Regions from separate parts of the Homo sapiens genome. Here regions 1, 3, 4, 5, 6 and 7 are each linked to region 2. Evidence: promoter capture Hi-C in 16 types of primary human blood cells and fetal thymus (Javierre and others, 2016). All regions are on one chromosome and are shown on one strand. The core of a region is centred on a gene start or on the middle of the fragment in contact, and the rest is flanking DNA. Distances in the headings are between cores, read along the strand shown. Region 1 has its middle 13 kb from the start of PHLDA1-AS1. Region 2 holds the start of ZFC3H1 (zinc finger C3H1-type containing). Region 3 has its middle 16 kb from the start of DYRK2. Region 4 has its middle 5.4 kb from the start of KRR1. Region 5 has its middle 22 kb from the start of GLIPR1. Region 6 has its middle 54 kb from the start of PHLDA1-AS1. Region 7 overlaps NAP1L1 (nucleosome assembly protein 1 like 1).

Region 1 (3,299 bases), core at 424-2,923, 4.4 Mb after region 2:
ATCGTCACACTAGCTCCATGAGACAGGATTTATTATACCTATTTTACAGGTAAGAAAACTAAGATTCAAAAATGTTAGGTGACTTGTGCAAAGTTACACAGCTTAAGAGAGTCAGCACTGAGTCATATCCAGGTCCTTCAAATTCAAAGTTGTAGTCTTTCCAAAGAAAGGCAAATGAGTACAGAAATCACTACTTGTAAACTATTACAACTGAAACAGGGCAATTGAAGAATATCTTTACTCTAAAGACAAAGAAACTAAAGTCCAGAGACGCAAAATCATGTGCTCAGGGTCACACAACTTGTTAACGGCAAAGCCAAGTCTAGAATCTAGGATTCTTTCTACTACTCTTTGTTGACCCTTGAGGAATCTCCCGGGATAGTGTAAAAGCATGCTCCTCTTGTTGAGCATGAATGAAAAGCCTGAGATTCTTCTCCTGTTTTCTTGATTTGGATCTTTTGATAGACTCTGTGATTGGTGCTGGACATGACGTCTCTAAGGGAGCTAGCTTCTGCAAAACCAGCAAGCACCACTGATGGTGTCTCTGGCTTTATTGCTCCAGTTTCCGCTAAGAACCTTCGATCTTTCTTATATCTTTACCATGTCAATATGACTCTGACAGGAAGGCACTGAAAGCAACTACGTATTTCTGTTTTGAAATTTAGTTTTGTTCTATTTAAATTGTTCAGATGTAACGAAGGACCAATTGAAAATCATTACAACAGTACCATATGAGAAAGGAAAGTGTAAACCTTAGTAAGAATTATAAGAATACCTAAAATAGCCGGGCGCGGTGGCTCACGCCTGTAATCCCAGCACTTGGGGAGGCCGAGGCGGGCGGATCACGAAGTCAGGAGATCGAGACCATCCTGGTTAACATGGTGAAACCCCTTCTCTACTAAAAATACAAAAAAAATTAGCTGGGTGTGGTGGTGGGCGCCTGTAGTCCCAGCTACTCGGGAGGCTGAGGCAGGAGAATGGCGTGAACCCGGGAGGCAGAGCTTGCAGTGAGCCGAGATCACGCCACTGCACTCCAGCCTGGGTGAGAGTGCAAGACTCCGTCTCAAAAAAAAAAAAAAAAAAAAAAGAATACCTAAAATACTCTAAATTAATGTCTTTAAGAGCATTCCCATCTCTGAGAGAGGTCTGCATCGTATTTTAGTGCTAGCACACAGCCACAGTTTGCATAGCGTTTAAGCGCAAAGGCAGTGGAGTTAAATACCCAGATAACAATTCTCATCCTGCTGTTTATTTGGCAAGTTTCTTCAGTTCCCCAATCCTCAATTTCTTATCTATTAAGTAGAGGCTAATAAGACCTATAATAGAGGCTGCTAGTTTCCTTTCCAATAACCATTCTCCCCTCCTTCTTTGCTGACAGAACCCTAATTTTATTTGGGATGGCAATTTGGCCAGTACATTTCTAGCCCTCCTTTGCAACCCTGGATAGCAAATGTGGTGTTAAGTGGAAGTCACCATATTGGGATTCCAAAATTTTTCTAGGCTGGATATGGTAGCTCAAACTTGTAATCCCAGCACTATGGGAGGCCAAGTTGAGAGAATCACTTAAGTCCAGGAGTTCGAGACAAGTCTGGGCAACATAGGGAGACCCTGTCTCTACAAATAATTTAAAAATTAGTTGAGTGTGGTGGTGCGTGCCTGTGATCCCAGCTTCTCAGGAGGCTGAGGCAGGGGGATCACCTGAGCCCAGGAGGTTGAGGCTGCAGTGAGCTGCTGTTTCCCTAATTTTCTTTCTTCCTGTTCTAGAGCTCGAATATGGTAGCTGGAACTCCAGCAGCCATCTTGAATCATGAGGCTAGAAGTCCTGTACCAAGGGTGGTAGAAGAGAAAAGAAAGAAGGAACCCGGATCTGTGACAAACTAAAGTCACCTTACCCACCCTGGGCCACCCACATCTAGGTTACTTTTACATAAAAGAGAAGTAAATCTTTATCTTAATACACTTATTTTGATTTATCTGTAACAACAGGGTGTTTTTTTTTTGAGACGGAGTTTCACTCTTGTTGCCCAGGCTAGAGTGCAATGGCGTGATCTTGGCTCACCGCAATCTCCGCCTCCTGGGTTCAAGCAATTCTCCTGTCTCAGCCTCCCGAGTAGCTGGGATTACAGGCGCCTGCCACCAAGCCCAGCTAATTTTTTGTATTTTTAGTAGAGAAGGGGTTTCACCATGTTGGCCAGGCTGGTCTTGAACTCCTCACCTCAGGTGATCCGCCCACCTTGGCATCCCAAAGTGCTGGGATTACAGGCATGAGCCACCGCTCCTGGCCTGCCCTGTGGTCCTATTTTACACAGTCATTTGGTTCAACTGAATATCATTTTTTAAAGCCACATTGAAATCAAAGTGTTTTCCCAGGCTCTTAGAGTGCCCGGGTCAAGAATGCTGACAATCTGCTGTCAGAGAGAGAGGCTGTCCGCGTTACCCCCTATCAGCCCTCCCAGTCATCACTTGCATAAGAACCAGCAGGCAATCCACTGCCTTGTGACAAGCACTGTGACTCCAGGAGGGAGCCAAGTGCTATGAATGAAACCCCGTAAAAGGTCACTTTATGTAAGAGGAAATGTTGGCATCACCCAGAGCACATACACAATTTTGAATTAAAAGCCGGATTGCTGGATGCAGAAGTACATCTACTTATTAAAGATCCTGCTCCTTTTTTCTCCCTATCCTTTCATGAAAAGTTATTACAAACTCTAAAATCTTCTCCAAGTTAAATCCTTAAGTAAAAGAAGCACACAAGAAAACATTGTGTGGTTTGAAGTTCTTAATATCCTAGGTAGGTCAAAAACTGTTATTTATGGTTTAATTTGGAGCTATGTGAATTGCATTCACCTAGTTGCCCAGAAGGGCAGCAACAAATTTTTATCACTCCACGTATTAGGATCTCACCAGTGCCCATAGATCCACTACCCTCAACCAACCTTTTCAGAAAATATTTCTCCCAACACCTACACAGGCTACAAATCTAGGCAGCTACCTCCTCAAGTAACTGTATAAACATTCAAATCACTTCAACATTTTTCAACTCCACAGGTAATTTCAAGACCTGAGGGTGACTAGCAACAGGAAACATTCCACAAATATTTTAGGAGTCATAAGATAAAATCAATTTCAAATGGCTTTTTTAAAAGAATATATTCTAACAACCACATTTTAAAATAAGTCCATTTCAAAATATACTTCTGGAGGAGAAGGAGAGAGAAGAGGGAAAAAAAAGAAAAAAGAAAATGTGTGTGTGTGTATATATATATGCGTGTGTGTGTGTGTGTGTGTGTGTGTGTGTA
Region 2 (3,425 bases), core at 863-3,362:
CTCTCAAAGTGTTGGGATTACAGGCGTGAGCCACCACGCCTGGCGCCTACATGATTTTCTCCGAAACAATCCTGAAATACTCCTAACCCAACTTTTGGTTGCAGAAGTAAGGTTTTTCAGGGAACTAGCATCAGAAGCTGCTGTTTCTCACCTAAATGTACATTCCTTGCCCCTTTTACATCATGACATTTGAGAAAGACCTATTCTGGACCTAAGTGTTCTATAAAAGTAATTCTGATTGTCTTCCAAATAACTGTCATTACTTTTAAGTTTCATATATAATAACGAAATTAAAAATCATCACACTATGTGAATTACAACCAGTAATGAAAGTCTTTAAACAATTTTTGCAATGATCACAGATTAAGTCAAGATAGTGTTTTACAAACCCATTATAAAACAGGAAACCTTCGGATGATTGATTCCTCTGTATAAATGCTGAGTAAACTCAGTAATGTTTAAAACTGAGAATAAGGTTAGAAGTAGGAAAAATCTGGAATGTTACTATTTCCTTTCTCAACTTACCCGTAATCTCCACCCTCGCATACACATTCCTCCACTCTAACGTATTAAAATAAAAATGCTGATAAGTTTATCTTTCTCTCTCTGGCCCTCATTTAGTCAGCACGAAGTTACACAATGTGCAAAAGTGAACACAGATAGAAACGTAAAGGAGGTAAAGTGTTCCAAAAAGATCAAATGAATCAAAAAGCTCTGAAACAGACTTGGTAAAGACACCAGAGTTGTTTTTTTTTTACCCCTCCCCCCCCCACTTTAAAAGGCAGCAACCGGAATAAATCAAGATAAAAACAGAATCACAAAAATAGTGCAGGACTGTGCAGATTAAAACTTTACAATTTTCAACGTCAAACTGCAATATGATAAAGCAACAATATTACTTAAACTGTTTATGAATATTTTTTCTCTAACAATCCAAGTCAACTTCATATAAAACACAAAGTTTCTGTACCAGCAAAAATACAAATGCTAATGAAACTTGGGCTTCTAAGGTATTATTACAAATCAGACTTAACTGTCTTAGATTTCATAAGCTTAACCCAATCCACAGCACGTTAATATACCCAATGAAGCAGTCTTAAGAATAACGCTATAGTGTGACACATGGGGAATTACCAAAGAACAACTTAAAGTATACTGACACAGGGAGAAATAAGCGGTTCTGATGATTCAAAGTTACACTCGTCTCACAGACCTAGTAATGACGCTAAAGGGAACTTTAGTGACACACCCAGCGCCGACCGCCACGTTAAGGATACAGCTCTTCCGAGGTGGAGAGGGCTCTCGCCAGCTCTGACTGCTGCTGAACCCGGATCCTGCTCCTCCTCCCAGAGGAGGTCTGCACCCCGGCTTGCCTCCTCGCTCACCCACTCCTCGCCCCCGACTCCAGCGACTCCCACCCCGGTAAGGCCTGCCTCGAAAGCGGAAACGGTCCAAGGCGAGGTGGCTCCGCTCCCAGAAAGACGGCCGGGGACTGCTTTCGGACAGTGAGCTCGAAGGCATCCGTACAGAAGGCGGATGAGACCGGAACGGTTCTTTGGGTCGGTAGCTGCTGGGTCCCCTGAGGTGGCCCCGCTCAGACGCGTGCCGCGAGCGTGAGAAATTCCTCAGCTGCTGCTGAGAAGAGGACGATGACGAGGAAGAGCCACCGCCTCCGCCAGATCCACCGCCCCGGGCCGAGTGAGGAGGCCTTCGCCGCGGATAGGGTAACAGCCCGCCGCCGCTGCTGCTGCTGCTGCTCCGACTCCGTATCTGGCTGTTATTATCGTCGTCACTGATTTCCCCATCTTCAAGCTCCCCTTCTTCCTTCGGCGAGAGGCCACTGGAGGCCGGGGCCGGAGTATCTGCGGTCGCCATCCGGGGAGCAGCGCCTTCCACACAACCTTAGCCCTCCGTCCGGGGATCCGCCCGACAATTGCCTCGTTTCCCTTCTTTCCTAACGGACTGGGTCGGTGCGGTCTTACCCTACTCGGACACCAAGCGGCCTCTGCTCCCCAACTTCCCCGCACCCCAGCACCCCAGCTCTCTCTCGCCGGACCGTCGCAACCCAGTTCCCTTTCCTAGCGCCCCCTTGCTCCTCAGCGATCGGGGTTCTTCCGCCTCGCGAGAAAGGGACTCTGGTAGCGGCTGTACCCGAAACGTCACTTCCTGCGACACGCAGGAAACAAAGGCTCCCAGTTCACGCGATAATAAGACCAACTCGATACTCACTAGGATTTGTAGTCTTTCGTCTTTCTTCGGGTTTACTCTTCCGGTCCTAGGGTCACACCCACCGCAGGGTCTGGCTTGGTACAGTTGGGTGCATGCAGAAGTAGGTGGAGCTGCTGTTGCAGCCTTGAGAGAGTTTTATTGTAAAACTCTTGTAATTTATAGTAATCGGAGGGGAAAACACCTCTTCCTTTTAATTGCTCTGAGGACCGCTGCCAAAGAAACGCAGTAGATCCGCTCCCTCTTGGGGGCGGGGAGAAAGAACGGGTTGTGTCCGCCATGTTGGTGAAGTCAAGCGAAGGCGACTAGAGCTCCAGGAGGGCCAGTTCTGTGGGCTCTAGTCGGCCATATTAATAAAGAGAAAGGGAAGGCTGACCGTCCTTCGCCTCCGCCCCCACATACACACCCCTTCTTCCCACTCCGCTCTCACGACTAAGCTCTCACGATTAAGGCACGCCTGCCTCGATTGTCCAGCCTCTGCCAGAAGAAAGCTTAGCAGCCAGCGCCTCAGTAGAGACCTAAGGGCGCTGAATGAGTGGGAAAGGGAAATGCCGACCAATTGCGCTGCGGCGGGCTGTGCCACTACCTACAACAAGCACATTAACATCAGCTTCCACAGGTAACCTGGGCAGGGAGTGGGGGTGACGGAAACTGGAGTTCCTATTGTGGCTATCGCTTGTGTGGAAGGAACAGGAGGATTCTGCTAATTCTAATAACTTTCCCAGCTGGTAGCAGGGAAGCATCGTATGTCCTTTGTGTTTCTCAAATCTGCCCAATTGTTCTCTGCTTTCGGGGAAGCTTTACTCATTTTCTAAAAGAAATCCAAGTACTGTTTGGTCATTACCCCTTAGTAAAAAAAAGTAACAGGAGGATATCGTAATTTTCTACTGTTTTATTCCTCTGTTAGACCGGGCCTTGACATGAATGACGCCGTAAGGGAGAAAGAGATCTTCCCAATCAGCAATCACCGTAAAAGCCTGCTGTGTTCCCGTTAAAATTAGGAAATTCTCACTAGATGAATTGACATGGGAGGCATTTAGATTTCTAATAGTCACATAGTAATTCTGCGGAGGAATTGAGTCATCTTTGATAGCCATGGAATTAAGCGATGTTAATTAAAGTGCAAAAGATAACCTTTCTGTTCTTACTAGAATAGAGTAATAAAAAGAACCTAGGTTTTCTTTTGTTTGCTGGAAGAA
Region 3 (3,537 bases), core at 422-2,921, 4.0 Mb before region 2:
GAAAAGCTGCAAGAGGTTACCAAAGAGTAAAACCAAAGATTTTACTGCAGTGAGCTATTACACAGGCAGTGGTTTTAGGGTCTTCGCACTCTTCGGTGCTAAGTATAAATCGGTTTGATTTTCAAGCACAAGAGAAAACAATGTTTCTTGTGCCAGGTATGTATTTATGCACAAACTAGTTTGAAAGGCTTCAGCGTGAATGCCCAAATTACAATTGACCTCTGTTAGTCTCAGCAGTAGCACCAAGAAATGGAGCATAAGAAATGAAAAGAAAGAAATGTCAGGATACATTTGTAGCAACAGAGAAATGGCGGTGAGAAAATCTCAGGAAATACAAAGCTTACAGTAAAATTAAAAATCTAAATGCCTGCTGGAGAAAGGTGGTAATGTCAATGGGTAAAGCCAGCCTAGCACACACACAATAACAGGAAGTGGTGGGGACTGCGGTGACCTGCAGGGCAGGCACTGGTGGGAAGTGGGGAGGGCTGAAGCTACAAAAGGTGGGGGATGTTCTCCGTTGCCAAGTAGGACTAGGAGGAAGCACAGTGCAGACAGATTTTGCCTTATTTCCAGAAAAGCCAGAAATCTGGATATTTACATGAAATCTCCTGATTTTTAAATGTTGGCATTTAGTTCACATTTTCAAAAAACACTGTGGAAGCCAAACAAAACATATCTGCAGGCTGCTTTTGATCTGTAATTTCTAACTTTGCAACTTCTAACTTTGCCATTTACATACAAACAGTTTTAATTATTGAGTAAACTGAGCCATTAAATCCCTACATAGTTATGACAATGATTTCCCCTACACAGAAGAAACAGAAGAAACCATTTTTTTATGACCTGAAGCTTCTGTTGCAGTATGAAATCATGTTATTCAAATACTAGCAGAGGAAAAGCAAAATAATAGAATAAAAATAATTCCTTTCCTTTTCAGAATTTTTACAAATGAAAGTTGTCAACTTTTATTACTACTTTTGCATAAATCTTCTGAAAGTTAAGTCACCATTAAACTAAATATGATGTGGAATAAGGTAGAGTTACGCTCTGCTGCTTCTGAAATAGGTTGACATTTTATAAGATTCTCCTGGAATATTCCTCTGAAGGATGTTGGGTTTCAGAAATCATATAAGCTGATGGAAAACGACTGGTTCTGACTGAAATGAACAAGTGGAAGGAGAGATTTTCATTATGACTAAGGCTATTTCATAGTCTTTCCCAGTAACTCATTTTCTCCATCATTCTATCTGGAAATCTTCATTGAAAAGCAAGAATACCAGACAATTGGATAGATTTGAAGGAATGCTTAAACTCGATTCATTCTCATAGCCTAAGCAGGCCTCTGGACCATGCTTCAAGCACTGTGATTTGAGAGGAATCTGAGAAATGTTCTATCTTCCAGGGAAATTTCCTAAGAATCTTTTGCCCTGTGGTGGCTTTATTTCTACCTATACCTATAGATTTGGAGGAGAGAGGGTCTTCATTTTTCTCCTCTAAATTAATTGAGAGAATAGACATTCCTAGAGTGGGGGTAATATCTTAAAACCCTTACCAGCTAATGGTTAAGGCAGGAAAATGACTTTTTGTTCCCCCAGCAGGAGCAGGGAGCCAACAGGGCAAGACTATAAAGTAATGGCAGAAGCTCCGGAAGTCTGGAAACAGTATGAACTGGAAGTGTCAGAGTGTCACTCAATTCTGCCTAGAGCAAGAGTTCAGACAGCCTTCAAATCACTTTGGATAAACACAGGAGGCAGCCAGGGAAACAAAGCACTGTGGAGTTCAGTGTTCATTGCCCGGATGGGCTGATGGGCTCGTTGAGGAGAGGGAGTTTATTTTAAACATCTTTTGTGCCTCTTTGCAATGCCTGGTGCAGGGTTAGGCATACATCTTAGATGTAATAAATACAAGTTTAAATGAGTACAACATCTTCAGATGGATTTGTGACTCTAGTGTCAGACTATTGTATATATTATCATTTGACATTTCAAAATCATTTATATTCTATCATACTAAAAGGCTCACACATGCATGTATTGTTGAAGTTATTAATGGTTTCTTACCTAATTCAGGCACATTAAGTCTGCAGGTTAAATGCCAAGAAGTAGACTTTCAATATAACTAAAACATGCTCCTTAGAAGCAACCAAATTGTTTTAAGTATTTTAATTAAGATACTTATAAAATTACTGCACTCTTTCTTGCTTCACAAATTAGAGTTAAGTATAAAGAGCAAAACTGAACTATTTCTTAATCACTGCAAAAGATCATCCATCACATCTGTTGCATTAACACTTTAGGATTATTGTTGGTCTAGAGCATCTTACTTCAGTGCTCTACGGCTTAAAGCAGCTATGCTTTTTAGATCCTTTGCTTGCTTTTGACAATTTTTCTGTCTCTTTCCTTACTGAAAATAGTCAGTGGATCTTTTACTATCACCCTCCCACCTTTCTTAATTTGCTAACTCTAACATGCAATGGCCTGAGAAACCAGATTTCTAAGCTTAATAGGAAGGTGTATCAAAGAATAATAGCTCATACTTGTGCATTTTCTGTGTGCTAGGTTCTGTTCTGTGAATTTTAAATAGGTAATCTGATTTAATCCTCTATGAACCCTACAATGAAAATACTATTTTACAGGTGAGAGAACTGACACAAAGAGCTTGAGAAACTTGCCAAGTTCATATAATTAGTAAGTAGGGGAGACACAATCTGTATTCAGGCCATCTGACCACTGTACCATGCTATGGATTGTTTTTGAGTAAAAGAATGGATGATTCTTTCATTAATAAAATTCATGGATTGCAATGCATGGATTTTGTGACACCAATTGTGTTTATCTACAAGTCTTTAAAAAGTCCCTTCTGCTCTTCAGCTGTGTTCTGGATCGTTGATGTTAACATTTGGATGACCTCTGAAAAAGTCAGAGTTATGGTATTTTAAATGTAGGGAAGGCATTTATATTTTCTGGCTTAGTCTTTTCACAAGATTAGTTTCAAAAGGTGAGTAGGGTTCTTGTTTGGTCTCATCAGTGATAAATCAAAATTTCCTCAGGTTCTTCAGGGAATTTAAAAAGTCCTCATTGCTTGAAATGAAAATAGAAAATGACTTCGAAGTTAGAGAGATTAAGGATAATTTTAGTAAACTTCACTCTCGCCCCCATTTTATACTAATCCCAAATCATTTCAGGAAAACTTTTAACAACTAGGGGAAAAGATGCATGGGGAGGGCTATGGAGGAAAAAGTGATGTTGGAAAAGCTTGGCTCAAGAGGAAGCTGCTGAATGTAGGTTGGTCATTTACCTGAACTTCAGCAGGACTTACTTTGTGAACTTTGAGGAGATTTGCTGACATAAAGGTTAGAAGTGGTAAGCCTGGGGACAGAAGCTGCTGTTGAAAATGTGGTCCTCCAAAAAAGAAGGAAGTTCTTACACTGCCACGTGCTCCAGGGCAGCTGCCAGCTAGCCATGTGTTTGCTCAGTGATTTCTTTGGCACTTTGCAAGATCTTGCAGGATTTCAGGATATTAGTGTTTCCCCCGACT
Region 4 (3,349 bases), core at 188-2,687, 3.9 Mb after region 2:
CTGACGAACATATGATGTTCAACCTCACTACTGTCAACAAAGTATACAGACTTAACAATGAAATATCACTTCTCACCCACCAGATTGAAAAAAAAGAAAAGAAATAAAAAACATACATTTAAAAAAAATACTGCTAGAGGAAAGAATAGTCTCATACATGGCTAGTGCAAATGTAAACTGTTACTGCCTTTTTGCAGAGCAATTTAGCAATATAAAATACACACATATGGTTCTGCAGTAATTCCACACCAGATAAACTATTGAATAGAAATAAAGGACCATTCAATTAGAATGTTTCTACAATAGTGTTGATTACTACCTTCTATAAAAGTAGTTTAGTGAAATATACTTTGGAGCCATACTGACTAGTTTGCCACCTATTGGCTATATAGCCTGGGGCGTTTCTTACCTACTCCTGCTCAGTTTTCTAAAATGGGGAGAATAACCTAACCCCTCAGTAGCTTAATACATGTAAAGCGCAAAAAAAAAAAAAAAAAAACTTAGCACATGATAAACACTTAATAGGTGTTAGCTATTATTGTTTATACTGGCAAAAAGTAAAAGCATTTAAACTATCAATTAGGGATCTAGTTAAATAAATTGATATTACTTTCATAACCATGGGCTATTATACAACCATTTATAAGAATTAAATCTATATGAAAAAATACATAGAATATTGAGCAATAAAAGCCAGATATGTAATATAAACATACACATACACACACGTATATATAATATGATCTCATTTTTCTAAGGCAAACCATTCATTTATTCAACAAATATTTACTGAGCATCTATGACATTCAAGACACTGTTCTAAATACTTGGTTATATTCTATGTGCTGAATATAATATATGAATACATGAGTTTGTATGTGATTGTACAATAAAAAAATTGGGACAGATACACATTAAGATTTTAAGACTGGCTAACTTAGAGATGAAGATGATTAGAAAAGAAGATGAAACTAGGCAAAAAGACAGAAGAAGATGTCCATGATAAAATAGCATGTATAAAATGATACTATTTACATACAACTGTATGTGTGTGTGTGTGTGTGTTTGTGTGTTTCTGTATGAAAAGATGGTCATCTAAATGTTGACTATGTTACCTCTCAGTATAGAGACATTTCAAAGTATGGCAATTAAATGGCAATACAGTTGTAAATCAATCACAATATACATCATTTTTCTTTAACATCCTAGGAAATCTGAACATAAATATGTAAATAAATAAGCAAATAGAATATGTACTTAAATGACACTAAAAGGGGAAAGAAAAATGGACATCTCTAAAGGGTTTCTTGGCACAAATCTAGAATCTAGATTGGAAAGCCCTTGGGTCACAGCCACAGGCAGGCCTTTCTTTTTCTTTTGGAGACAGAGTCTCGCTCTGTTGCCAATGCTGGAGGGCAGTGGTGCCATCTCAGCTCACTGCAAACTCTACCTCCTGGGTTCAAGCAATTCTCCTGCCTCACCCTCCCAAGTAGCTGGACTACAGGCGCCTGCCACCATGCCCGGCTAATTTTTGCATTTTTAGTAGAGATGGGGTTTTGCCATGTTGGCCAGGCTGGTCTTGAACTCCTGAACTGAGATGATCCACCCACCTCAGCTTTCTAAAGTGCTGGGATTATAGGCATGCCCTTTTTGATTGTGACTTCTCTCCTCTTTAGCCTCTTAAGCAATCTAGACCCACATGCAGCCACAATCATCTTCCTGTGAGAAATCTGCTCTACTTGTTCTTACCCTGCTTATTCATTTTCCCAGGGAAAGCACAGATTGTCCTCACAACAACTCTCCTTTGGAATTAAAGACCTTAATTCTCACGGTAACCAGAGGGTAGAGGGGAAAGAAAGAGTAAGGATGAGATTTAACAATGTCTTTGGAGAGTGTATTATCTCTTATTAAAGCAAACAGGAAAATGGCAAATAAATGTGGTTTATTTTTATTTAACATTTCTACACTGATTTATCAGAGATAAAAATTAATTTTGCACAGTAATCTACTTTCTTGCTAACTTTATTTTCTTTTTTAATAATCTAGATAGGATTTCTCAAGTACATAACGTTGACACATTTTTATTTTCTTTTTTTATTATACTTTAAGTTTCAGGGTACATGTGTACAATGTGCAGGTTTGTTGCATATGTATACATGTACCATGTTGGTGTGCTGCACCCATTAACTCGCCATTTAAACATTAGGTATCTCTCCTAATGCTATCCCTCCCCCCTTCCCCCACCCCACAACAGGCCCTGATGTGTCATGTTCCCCTTCCTGTGTCCATGTGTTCTCATTGTTCAATTCCCACCTATGAGTGAGGACATGTGGTGTTTGGTTTTTTGTCTTTGCGACAGTTTGCTGAGAATGATGGTTTCCAGCTTCATCCATGTCCCTACAAAGGACATGAACTCATCATTTTTTATGGCTGCATAGTATTCCATGGTGTATATGTGCCACATTTTCTTAATCCAGTCTATCATTGTTGGACATTTGGGCTGGTTCCAAGTCTTTGCTATTGTCAATAGTGCTGCAATAAACATACGTGTGCATGTGTCTTTATAGCAGCATGATTTATAATCCTTTGGGTATATACCCAGTAATGGGATGGCTGGGTCAAATAGTAATTCTAGTTCTAGATCCCTGAGGAATCGCCACACTGATTTCCACAATGGTTGAACTAGTTTACAGTCCCACCAGCAGTGTAAAAGTGTTCCTATTTCTCCACATCCTCTCCAGCACCTGTTGTTTCCTGACTTTTTAATGATCGCCATTCTAACTGGTGTGAGATGGTATCTCACTGTGGTTTTCATTTGCATTTCTCTGATGGTCAGTGATGATGAGCATTTTTTCATGTGTCTTTTGGCTGCATAAATGTCTTCTTTTGAGAAGTGTCTGTTCATATCCTTCGCCCGCTTTTTGATGGGGTTGTTTGTTTTTTTCTTGTAAATTTGTTGGAGTTCATTGTAGATTCTGGATATTAGCCCTTTGTCAGATGAGTAGATTGCAAAAATTTTCTCCCATTCTGTAGGTTGCCTGTTCACTCTGATGGTAGTTTCTTTGGCTGTGCAGAAGCTCTTTAGTTTAATTAGATCCCATCTCTCAATTTTGGCTTTTGTTGCCATTGCTTTTGGTGTTTTAGACATGAAGTCCTTGCCCATGCCTATGTCCTGAATGCTATTGCCTAGGTTTTCTTCTAGGGTTTTTATGGTTTTAGGTCTAACATTTAAGTCTTTAATCCATCTTGAATTAATTTTTGTATAAGATGTAAGGAAGGGATCCAGTTTCAGCTTTCTACATATGGCTAGCCAGTTTTCCCAGCACCATTTATTAAATAGGGAATCCTT
Region 5 (3,458 bases), core at 599-3,098, 3.8 Mb after region 2:
AAAAATTACTAATATCAGGAATAAAACAAGGGACACCACTAGAAGTGCAAGAGAAATTTAAAGAATAAGAAGGTGAATAACTTTGTTAATAAATTCAACAATTTAGATGAAATGGACAAATTCTTGAATGAATTTTGAAAACAAACATGACAATAAAGAACAATTCTGATAGCCTCATGTTAAGAATTGTAAAGGATCTAAGATTTTATCCTAATTGCAAGCTAACAAGTTAGTAACGCTTTCAAGGAAAGAAAATACAAGACCTCTAGGTCAGAGATAAACAACGGTATTTTACTCATAGCAATGGTAATACATTACACTTTTTAAAACATTATTTTCTTACAATTTATTTTTATTTGAATGTATGTATGTATAATTTTAAAAATTGAATAATTTTCTCAGTATGTAAAAAAAGCTGTCATTGGAGCCACTGATGACAGGACATTTTTTAAAAGCTATTTTAGCAAAGAAACTGCAAAAAGAAAACAGGAGAAAAAAATTGGCAATCAAAATGTTCAAAGGAAACAGCAAAACTGCTGTTGAAACCACCATTTCCTTTGAGTTGAGCAACTTCAAAATAATGTTTCTCAGAAGTGTGAAATTAAGCTAAAAATGTTTAGCTGAATAATATAAACATTAATACAATGTTATCGCACTATATGGCCTACATTATCTCTTTGACTATTTACATCATGTATTTCCCCCCTGTAATATAAACACTCAGATGCCTGACAAATTTAGATGCCTAACAAGTTTAACTCATGAATGACTAAATCTAGCAGTGCTATTCAAAATCATGTAAGTACTTATACATACCAGCATTACCTATTAATTTTATTTATTTCTGCATGTTTATTTAGAAATTATCATGGGAACCAGCCCCCAATATTTCAAGGTAGGTTCTTTTCTATTTTCCCTAAGTGTCAGCTGGTCTGAGAAATAAAGAGACTACAAAAGAAAGAAATTTTACAGGTGGGTCTCCGGGGGTGACATCACATGTCGGAAGGTTCTGTGATGCCCCTGACCTGCAAAACCAGCAAGTTTTTATTATGGATTTCAAAAGGGGAGTGGCGTATGAATAGGGAGTGGGTCACAGAGATCACAGGCTTCAAAGGCAATAAAGTATCACAAGGGCAGAGAGGCAGAGCGAGATCACAAGGCCAGGGTGAAACTGGAATTACTGATGAAGGTCCATGTCCCGCTGGGCACACATTGTCATTGATAAACATCTTAACAGGAAACAGGGTCCCAGAGCAGACAACCGGTCTGACTAGAATTTCGCCAGGCTGGAATTTCCCAATCCTAACAAGCCTGGGGGCGCTGCAGGAGACCAGGGTGTATTTCATCCTTTATCTACAACTGTATAAGACAGACACTCCCAGAGCGGCCATTTTAGAGACCTCTCCCTGGGAATGCATTCGTTTTCCCAGGGTTATTCCTTGCTGAGAAAAGAATTCAGCGATATTTCTCCTATTCACTTTCTGGAAGAAGAGAAATATGACTCTGTTCTGCCTGGCCTGCAGGCAGTCAGACTTTATGGTTATCTCCCTTGTTCCCTGAAAATCACTGTTATCCTGTTCTTTTCAAGGTGCCCAGATTTCATATTGTTCAAACACACATGCTTTTCAATTTGTGCAGATAACACAATCATCACAGGGTCCTGAGGTGACATACATCTTCAGCTTACAAAGATGATGGGATTAAGAGATTAAAGACAGGCATAGGAAATTATAAGAGTATTGATTGGGGAAGTGATAAATGTCCATGAAATCTTCACAATTTATGTCCAGAGATTGCAGTAAAGACAGATGTAGGAAATTATAAAAGTATTAATTTGGGGAACTAACAAATGTCCATGAAATCTTCACAATTTATGTTATTCTGCCGTGGCTTCAGCTGGTCCCTCCATTTGGGTTCCCTGACTTCCCACAACAAGAAAGAATATCCTATTGGAATTTATAATAATTTTAAAAATTTAGCCATCATAATTATCTTAGGATAATTGGTATCAGAAGAGGATTGTTTAAAGCAAATATACTTTTTAAAAATAACTTCAACTTTTAGATTCAAGGGGTATATGTGCAGGTTTGTTTCATGAGTGTATTGTATGATGCTGAGATTTAGGGTATGAATGATCCTGTCATCCAAGTAGTGAGAATAGCACTCAATAGGTAGTTTTTCAATCATCCCCCTTCTCTCTTTCTCCCCCACTCTAGTATTCCCCAGTGTCTATTGTTCCCGTCTTTATATCCATGTGTACCGAATGCTTAGCTCCCACTTACAGGTGAGAACATGTGGTATTTGGTTTTCTGTTCCTATGTTAATTCACTTAGGATAATAGCTTCCAGCTGCATCCATGTTGCTTTGAAGGATGTGATTTCATTCTTTTTTATAGCTGCATAGTATTCTGTGATGTATACATACTATATTTTCTTTACCCAATCTACCATTGATGGGCACCCAGGTTGATTCTATGTTTCTGCTATTGTGAACAGTGCTGTGATTAACTTACTAGTGCATGTATCTTTTCTTGCAGAATGATTTATTTTCCTTTGGATATATATCCAGTAATGGGATTGCTGGGTGAAATTATAGTTCTAAGGTCTTTGAGAAATCACCGAACTGCTTTCCACAGTGGCTGAACAATGTATTAAGTGTTCCCTTTTCTCCACAGCCTCACTAGCATCTGTTGTTTTTCACTTTTTAATAATAGCCATTCTGACTGGTAAGCCACCCGGTTCTTCCTGTGAAGAGGTTGTGGTGCAGTGGGGACCTCTACACACCACATCCAAGCATATCTCCAGGCCTCTGGAGCACCCACTCTCCTAGATTAGAAGTTTAGGCTGCAACCCCCTCTCGGTACACAGAACTTGGGGCCAAGGAGGTTTCCCAGCTCCAAGCCTAGAGATACCTCTAAGTGCTTGGGGGCTGCTCCCTGGATTCTCCCTCAGCACTGGTTCTTGTGCCTGCCATTGGGGAATCTGTAGGCAGGCCTTCCCATTCTGGCACCACCCATCTTTCCCCACTTCCAGACACTAAGCAGGGAGCTCAGACCACTGTACACTCTGCCGATCAGCCTATTGCCTAAGGCAACAAAGAGTTTCTCCCGGTAAACAATGATCATGTATATACCCACCTACATTGGCTGCAGCCAGCTCTTACCCATAAATGCTATCTACTGGCTTGAATCTTAAACCACAAAGCCTAATATAAAACCCGCTGACAAAAGTGCATAGAGCTGTAGAAGCAAAGCCAAAACACCCTATTCAACATTCTCTACAGTCACACCCCCAAGGGTGAGGGGAAGGAAAATGGAAAAAAATTATAGGGAAAGTAACAAAAATAAATCCTACCCACATGAAAAGAATTATGAAAATTAGAAGTGCCAACATCTTCAGATGTGAAGGACCCAGTGCAAGAATTCTGGCATCAAGAAAAATCTGAATGGAGTGATACCA
Region 6 (3,563 bases), core at 188-2,687, 4.3 Mb after region 2:
CCTCCATCCCTTATGAAACTACCATAACCTGAAGCCTTTCATCCTGGTGGCTCCGAAGCCTAAGCCAGTGCTTTTTTTTCCCCCTGTTGCCCAAGCTGAAGTGCAGTGGCATGATCTTGGCTCACTGCAACCTCCACCTTCCAGGTTCAAGTGATTCTACTGTCTCAACCACCCGAGTAGCTGGGATTACAGGTGTGCAACACCAGGCCCAGCTGATTTTTGTATTTTTAGTAGAGACAGGGTTTCACCATGTTGGCCAGGCTGGACTTGAACTCCTGACCTCAAATGATCCACCTGCCTCGGCCTCCCAAAGCATTGGGATTAAAGGTGTGAGCCACCACACCCCACACCCAGCCCTAAGCCAGTGCTCTTAAGAAGAAAACTGAGGCCAGCATGGTGGTTCATACCTGTAATCTCAGCATTTTGGGAGACTGAGGTGGGACAATTGCTTCAGGCCAGCTTGGGCACATAGCAAGACCTCGTCACCACTAAAAATTATAAAAACATTAGCTGGGCGTGATCCCAGTTACTCAGGAGGCTGAAGCAGGAGGATCACTTGAGCCGAGAGGTTGGAGCTATAGTAAGCAGTGATTGCGCTACTGCACTCCAACCTGGGTGACACAACAAGACCCTGTCTCAAAAAAAAAAAAAGAAAACTCTGAGACCTTGAACCCATTACTGCTAATAAACCCAATAACTTTTCATTCTGCCTAACAAAAATAGACCCTCCTTTAAAAAGTGGTTGCCAAGGGCACTCCAAGGTCATCAGGCAAGTGAAATAAGAGACAGCTTGATAGAGAAGAAAGAGAACTTGGCTTTGGAGTTAGACCGTTTAGTTCCTCATTATGGCCATTTCTAACTACATAATGATGTTTAGTTACTTAAGTGCTCTGAAATGCAGTGGCCTCCATTACAAAATGGAGCCAACAAAAAAAAATAAGTATCTCCTGGTGTTGTATTTAATAAGATAATGGACTCAAAAGTGCCTGGCACAAAATAGGGGTGTAATAAACGTTAATTTCCTTTTCTGCCTCTACAAACCTGCCTGAGCCAATCAAGGAAGAGAAGGAAGGCGAGGAAGTAAAAATGGTTAAGAATTACATTTTAAGTCCCATTTCCACTCAGCTGCTTTTCCTAGCTCAGCAGAGAACATGTCAGACTAAAGAAGATCAAATAATCTTTGGGGTGAGTTGCCCTGATAAAGAAATATGCTGAAACAGCCTGTATGTTCTCAAAGTAAGAAACCAAAAGGGGAAAGTTCAGGACCTGTAAATAGATCCTTTTCATGCCCAAGTTCTGCAGATTTTACAACTTGCTGGGATATTTCCCAGGGAAATCAGAGAGAGGGGATAGTAAGAGGTGGCAGGGGGTTGGCGGGGAGGATTTCTATATTCCCATCACAGATCATTTAACTCTATTTGCAGCTCAGGAACCCCAGAGCACAGGAGACAGACCACTGAAAATTTCGTGCTTATTTTACCTCTTCACTGTCATTACTTTAAACATGTGTCTTAGCAGGAGTATTATTAGTTCATGACACAGTAGACATGGATAAGCATTTTTATGGAATTTTAGGGTGGGGAGAGAATAGATATATACCACTCTAGCCCAAAGTCATCCTGTGGTCGCTACTTAATACAAGTGAATTACATAGTGCCACCGGCAGAAGATGGAATTGATACTGCTTTACAAAATAACAACCTTGCATACATAGGTGGTAAGAAAAGCAAGGAAATGACTACCACAAAAATCAGGGTAGTGGATACCTCAAGACAGGAGAAGGGAGGTACGTCTAGAAGGTAAACAAAGGAGGGACGTCTGGGCTGGCCATGTTCCATTTCTTGATGGAGGGTATTCACTTTGTAATTATTCATTGTACTATACACTTATGCCTTCTGTTTGCATATTCTATTTCATAATTTTTAAAGGTTTAAAAAAAAGAAAATAATAACCTCTCTTCATTGAGAAAATAATACTTTGCTGTAGGTTTCAGCCCTAGGTATTGCAACATTACCATCATCCTCAGTTGATGTTCTTGTTCCTCCCATAGATTTTTATTCTGGAAGAAGAAGAGGAGGGTAGTATTTTTTTTTTTTTTTTTAAGACAGAGTCTCACTCTGTCACCCAAGGCTGGAGGCCAGTGGCACGATGTCGACTCACTGCAATCTCTGCCTCCTGGATTCAAGAGATTCTCTGCCTCAGCCTCCCGAATAGCTGGGATTACAAGTGCCCGCCACCACGCCTGGCTAATTTTTGTATTTCTAGTAGAGATGGGGTTTCACCACTCTGGCCACGCTAGTCTTGAACTCCTAACCTCAAGTGATCTGCCCACCTCGGCTTCACAAAGTGCTGGGATTACAGGCATGAGCCGCTGTGCCTGGCTAGGAGGGTGGATTTTTGAAGAGCCACAGGTAGACTGCTGTTAATACTCCTGTATAGATAACATACCAGGGAATGTTTTAATACAGGAATATGCTTGAGATATATACACACAAACATAATACACACACACACACACACACGTAATTTTTTTTTTTTTTTTTTTAGAGAGAGACAGGGTCTTACTATGTTGCCCAGGCTGGTCTCAAACTCCTGGCCTCAAGCAATCCTCCCGCCTGGCCTCCCAAAACGCTGGGATTATAGGTGTGAGCTACTGCATCCAGGCTTTTGGGGTATATTTCAAAGAGTCCAATTACTCTTGAGTCAGAACTCAGTGAAGCTCTACAAGATACCAAAATGTTCTCCAAGGGGTACGCAGCATTCGCAAATCAGAGTCATCAGATGCAAAGAAAGGGAATACAAATGGGCTTATGAAATCATTGGAAAAAATACACAATTTTTCAGGAAATATTAAGAACTCAGTTCCTCCTCCAATTCAGGGCATAGCAGAGCCTCAGGGCCTCTATGTGAAGAAAATCCCTCCTGTGTTTGGCATCTGAGTGACTCACCCAGAAAACCATCCACTGCGTGCAGCAAAGAGGAAATGAATCATGGAAGCTTCTGACCTTTGCACTTGTCATCTCTGCACAGGGAAACCACCCACAGACAGTCTCAGCAGAACTGGAGTCAGGGCAGTCAAACAAAGCACACACAGAAATGATGCAAATTCACTGGCAGGGAAGAGCAAGAGAATCAGGGCAAGAGAACGCAGCTCAGGGGTTGCAAATACAGGATAAACATTGGTTTTGTGATACAGAAAACTTAGCAGTTGAAACGGCATTGAGGATGATTTGGCAGTGCCCACTGACCTGTTGTTTTAAGCAGGAATCTGAACCCTTACCCTGCTGGCTGGGGGTGGGAGTGGAGTGGAATGGCATGGAAGAAAACAATGACCTTTGAATCTCCATCTTATATTTGGTATTTGGAGAATTTGCTTGGCTTGCGTTAGAGGAAGTAGGCCAAACTAATGCCAGTATGAGAGTTGGAATGGATTTGATAGAGTCACATTTAAGAAGATGAAAGCCAACGACTGCATTTTGAAAAGGCCATGAGTTCACAATAACTGGTCCAGGAGTACTAACACAATCTGAAGAATTATCTACAGCCATAGTCCAATACTTCAC
Region 7 (3,681 bases), core at 533-3,032, 4.4 Mb after region 2:
ACAGAATGGGTCCTACTTATTTTGACTCGTTCCACTCAACCTTGAGCGAGTGCCAGTCATACATCTCCTTGTCCTCGCAGCCTCCAATTTACCTTCCCAAATCCTCTGTAAACCTTTCATTCTTCAAAGCCCTATTCAAATCCCAGATTTCCTCTGGCTGAGTTAATTCCTTCCTAATCACTTCAAACTCTGATGAGTAGTTATCCAATTTTCACGTCTACTTCACTAAATATCCAAGATCCTGGATGAGTGTTTTCGCCATTGTACCTAACGGAGAGCTGATTGACAGCACTTAAACTGAGGGGAAATGACTAATGTTTTGTCTGGAAATGTATTGATATTATTCAAAATGGGCAAGCAGGCTATCTTATTGAGTATTAACAAGTAACCAGGAAGTCTGATTATTTGTAAACTTGTTATGGTAATATTAGCTTTGAAGTGACAAACGAAAATATGGAACTGGATGAAATGGAGCAGAGAGGAAGGTAATCCAATGAAGGAGGCTGAGAGAACCAGTATTATGTTGTCACAAAACTGCAATCACTCAAAAGTGTTGATATTCTGGCTCTGGGTCTCTGGGGTGACAAGATACCCCAGTAACTAAGAGTGGAAGCAATCCTCTGTCCCCACTGAAGAGCCCAAGAACACCTACCACCTTTCCTAAGTATGCTTCTACTCTGAAACCCGGTAAATGCAACCCGTTGTTTGCAACTCAAATATGTAACTGACAGTCACTTGGGCAAATACCTCCATTTAAGGAACTAAATTCCAAGGATATTTCCCTCTTTTGCTGTCATTTTTCCATTGCCACAAAACACACAGCCTGAGGACATAGGCTGTTCAATTTGATCACTATTGATCTCTGTAAGAAAAAAAAATCCAGTAATGGGCAAATACCTTTCTTAGGTGATAGAGGACATATAGCAGTGAGTGTAGACAATTCCTCCCAAAAACATGAGAATAAAGAAGGTGGTAGTGGTGTTACTTTAGAAGAACAACTCAGGCTTCAGAGAGGGTAAGTTTCATTACAGACAAGGTAATCTAAGAGTAAAAGGGATAAAAGAATTCTGTGGGGTAGCCAGACTCAGAAAGGTGGAATAACACTTTTACAAGAAGATAAAACCCAGGAAATGTTTATGGCAAGCTTGTATGTTGCCACTAAACCTACCAGAAAAAGAAATCCCATTAGAACCGCCCCCATCACAATAACTACCTAAGTAAATCATTGTTGAGTAACAATGAGCACCCCTTAAACATGTCAGAAACCAGAAAGTTTTTGTTTCTAATGAGATTTCATTTACACTTTTAAGTCATTGTCTCAACCTAATTTGTGCATGCATGGTTCTGAGAAAGGTTATCATGCAAAATGAAATAAAAAGCCTTGGGCAAAGCAGGACTCCAATCATAATTAATCCTTTTGGGCCGTATTTAAAGAAAATTACTTTTCTTAGCCCTGTTCACTTATTTCTAAAATGTAGTTATTTGCTTTATGTTCCAGGATATCCTTGATCAAATAATCCTTTTCTAAATCAACTTATTTCGACATATGTGGCCAATGTGGCTGTCATCCTAACCTCCCTTGGCATTCACACCCAGCTCTATTTTATTTACTATCCTACTTTTAGCACTGTGAGCATAAACCATAGGTTCTTCTTTTTACAGGAGAGGTTGGATGCCAGTAGCCTTTAGCCTCCTTCAGCCCATCCTGTACCTTGAACCTGGACATGATGTATAGAGCCCCAGCAACCACTTGATAATAAACCAACTTGCCAAAGACAAAAAGTAGAATGAAAGTCTGCCTGAGAACCATGAAGCTCCCATATCAGTCCCAGAGTCTGTCTAAGCCTAAGAGAAAAACCTATATAAGCCACATTGTATTGGGGCTGTGTTATACAACATTATAATAAATACAAACTCTTCAGGGCAGGGGAGAGAAAAAGGAAAGATTATCTGAATATTGTTTAAAATGAAATCTAGATTAACTCTGGTCTCTAAAATATTTCATCTCTGAAAGCTCTAGCCTAAAGAACATGCTTATTTAACCACTAGTTGTGTGACAGAAATATCTACAAGGCAGTGCAAAGTGTAGGGCCATCCAAATGCTGGCTCCAACACAACTCAACTGTGTCATTGTTAAAGTTACTTAACTTCCATCCTTATGCATAAAAAGGGAATTAATATTCTCAATCAAGTATGATTAAGGCATTATTTTTATTATCTTAATGTTAAACGAACACTTAGTTCTCCCCAAATTGCTGATTAATACTGTAAACTGAAATCCCACTAGTTTAAAACTATACATGGAATAGCAATGAAGTTTTTCTCGAAACCTCTCAGTCTAGTTACATTATACCCAACTTTTGAAAACACGTGTACTTAAGGGTCACCTTATACATACCACTTGAGGTTCCTTTACTAATCAAGCTTGACATTTTTGTCTGAGGGAGTTCACTACGTTATAGCTTGAATTATAGCTGGAAATCAATTGTCCAGCTATAATTCAAGTAAAAGATTCCAAAATGATGGGGAAAAGCATATGTTTTTCTCCCTGAACAGGCATACAATATGTAATTTAAGCTTTGATGTCTTTGGTCATTTTGGAAAACGACTGCAACAAACTAAGCCCAGTCAGAAAAATTTTGCTTGTTTTAAGCCATTAAGTTTTGGAGGTTGTTTTGTTATGCAGTACTAGGTAACTGCAACTATTGATATGCCTTCCCTTGACTTTAAAAAACAACTAAGTTGACTCTTGAATATCAAATTTGAACTAAGAGGGTCCACTTACAGGTTTACTTCTGTCTCTACTACCCCTGTGACAGCAAGACCCCCCTCCTCCTCAGCTATTCATGAAGGCAGTGAGGATTGAGACTGTTATAATCCAGTTCCACCTGAGAGTAAATATACATACACATACATATACATACACACACACACACACACAGACAGTTTCATTCTGTTGCTCAGGTTGGAGTGCAGTGGCACTATCTCGGCTCACTGCAACCTCCACCTCCCGAGTTCAGTCAATTCTTGTGGGCTCACTGCAACCTCCACCTCCAGAGTTCAATCAATTCTTGTGCCTCAGCCTCCTGAGTAGCTTGGACTACAGGCACACACCACTACCACCTACAGCTAAGTTTTGTATTTTTAGTAGAGGCAGGGTTTCTCCATATTAGCCAGGCTGGTCTCGAACTTGTAACCTCAAGTCACTGGCCCGCCTCAGCCTCCCAAAGTGTTGGGATTACAGGCATGAGCCACCACACCTGGCCATAATATATTTCCGATTGCTTAACATTTTCTCTAGCTTACTTTTTACAGTATATAATACACATAACATACAAAGTGTGTGTTAAATGACTTATTGGTAAAGTTTCCACAGTAGGCTGTCAAGTTTTGGGGGAATCAGCTTATACATAGATTTGACTGAAGGAAGCTGGGGCCCCTAGCCCCTGCATTATGAAAGAGCTAACTGTATACACAATCCAGCTTTGTTTCATTGGTTTTCTCAATCTACAGGAATATGACAACTACAAAAGACCTTAGAGACTGAACTACTGAGAATCAATCATTCGACTTGCTACACAGTCCCACACAGGATTATGGTTGGTACATTGAATGGGTCTAGATAAATCCTAACTGACCTATACATCCAAAACTTTTCTGTACACTTACCAAGTTCCAAGC

Evidence for each region. The method cuts DNA at HindIII sites, captures the fragments that hold promoters and counts their contacts. A CHiCAGO score of 5 or more calls a contact.
Region 1: a contact is called between a fragment that was not itself captured here and the fragment with the promoter of ZFC3H1 in region 2, in 2 of 17 cell types (naive CD8 T cells and activated CD4 T cells). The highest score is 10.4, in naive CD8 T cells.
Region 3: a contact is called between a fragment that was not itself captured here and the fragment with the promoter of ZFC3H1 in region 2, in 2 of 17 cell types (fetal thymus and activated CD4 T cells). The highest score is 5.8, in fetal thymus.
Region 4: a contact is called between a fragment that was not itself captured here and the fragment with the promoter of ZFC3H1 in region 2, in 2 of 17 cell types (naive CD8 T cells and total CD8 T cells). The highest score is 8.9, in naive CD8 T cells.
Region 5: a fragment that was not itself captured here is called in contact with the fragment with the promoter of ZFC3H1 in region 2 in 1 of 17 cell types (total CD8 T cells); the score reaches 5.3 in total CD8 T cells.
Region 6: a fragment that was not itself captured here is called in contact with the fragment with the promoter of ZFC3H1 in region 2 in 2 of 17 cell types (activated CD4 T cells and monocytes); the score reaches 10.4 in activated CD4 T cells.
Region 7: a fragment that was not itself captured here is called in contact with the fragment with the promoter of ZFC3H1 in region 2 in 3 of 17 cell types (total CD4 T cells, total B cells and activated CD4 T cells); the score reaches 7.2 in total CD4 T cells.

Annotation. Positions count from the first base shown.
Region 1 is chr12:76,015,856-76,019,154 of GRCh38, forward strand. No RefSeq gene overlaps it. Among named protein-coding and RNA genes, the nearest start is that of PHLDA1-AS1, 13 kb to the right of the region's middle. The HindIII fragment of the contact is 6,475 bases long and covers 1-3,299 here.
Region 2 is chr12:71,661,736-71,665,160 of GRCh38, forward strand. ZFC3H1 (zinc finger C3H1-type containing) reads right to left here and starts at 2,113. Exons shown (of 35, transcript NM_144982.5): 1 at 1,278-2,113. The coding sequence starts at 1,875. It overlaps THAP2 (THAP domain containing 2), which reads left to right and starts at 2,566. Exons shown (of 3, transcript NM_031435.4): 1 at 2,566-2,845. The coding sequence starts at 2,775. RefSeq lists enhancers at 1,736-1,855, 2,208-2,766, 2,216-2,575. The HindIII fragment of the contact is 1,665 bases long and covers 1,051-2,715 here.
Region 3 is chr12:67,630,485-67,634,021 of GRCh38, forward strand. No RefSeq gene overlaps it. Among named protein-coding and RNA genes, the nearest start is that of DYRK2, 16 kb to the right of the region's middle. The HindIII fragment of the contact is 1,649 bases long and covers 848-2,496 here.
Region 4 is chr12:75,515,347-75,518,695 of GRCh38, forward strand. No RefSeq gene overlaps it. Among named protein-coding and RNA genes, the nearest start is that of KRR1, 5.4 kb to the left of the region's middle. The HindIII fragment of the contact is 6,037 bases long and covers 1-3,349 here.
Region 5 is chr12:75,456,802-75,460,259 of GRCh38, forward strand. No RefSeq gene overlaps it. Among named protein-coding and RNA genes, the nearest start is that of GLIPR1, 22 kb to the right of the region's middle. The HindIII fragment of the contact is 4,775 bases long and covers 1-3,458 here.
Region 6 is chr12:75,975,112-75,978,674 of GRCh38, forward strand. No RefSeq gene overlaps it. Among named protein-coding and RNA genes, the nearest start is that of PHLDA1-AS1, 54 kb to the right of the region's middle. RefSeq lists enhancers at 2,363-3,562, 2,891-3,060, 2,937-3,081, 3,091-3,140 and a cis regulatory region at 3,002-3,015. The HindIII fragment of the contact is 3,115 bases long and covers 1-2,995 here.
Region 7 is chr12:76,037,597-76,041,277 of GRCh38, forward strand. It overlaps NAP1L1 (nucleosome assembly protein 1 like 1), which reads right to left. Exons shown (of 15, transcript NM_004537.7): 15 at 1-3,681. Among named protein-coding and RNA genes, the nearest start is that of PHLDA1-DT, 7.6 kb to the left of the region's middle. The HindIII fragment of the contact is 1,280 bases long and covers 1,143-2,422 here.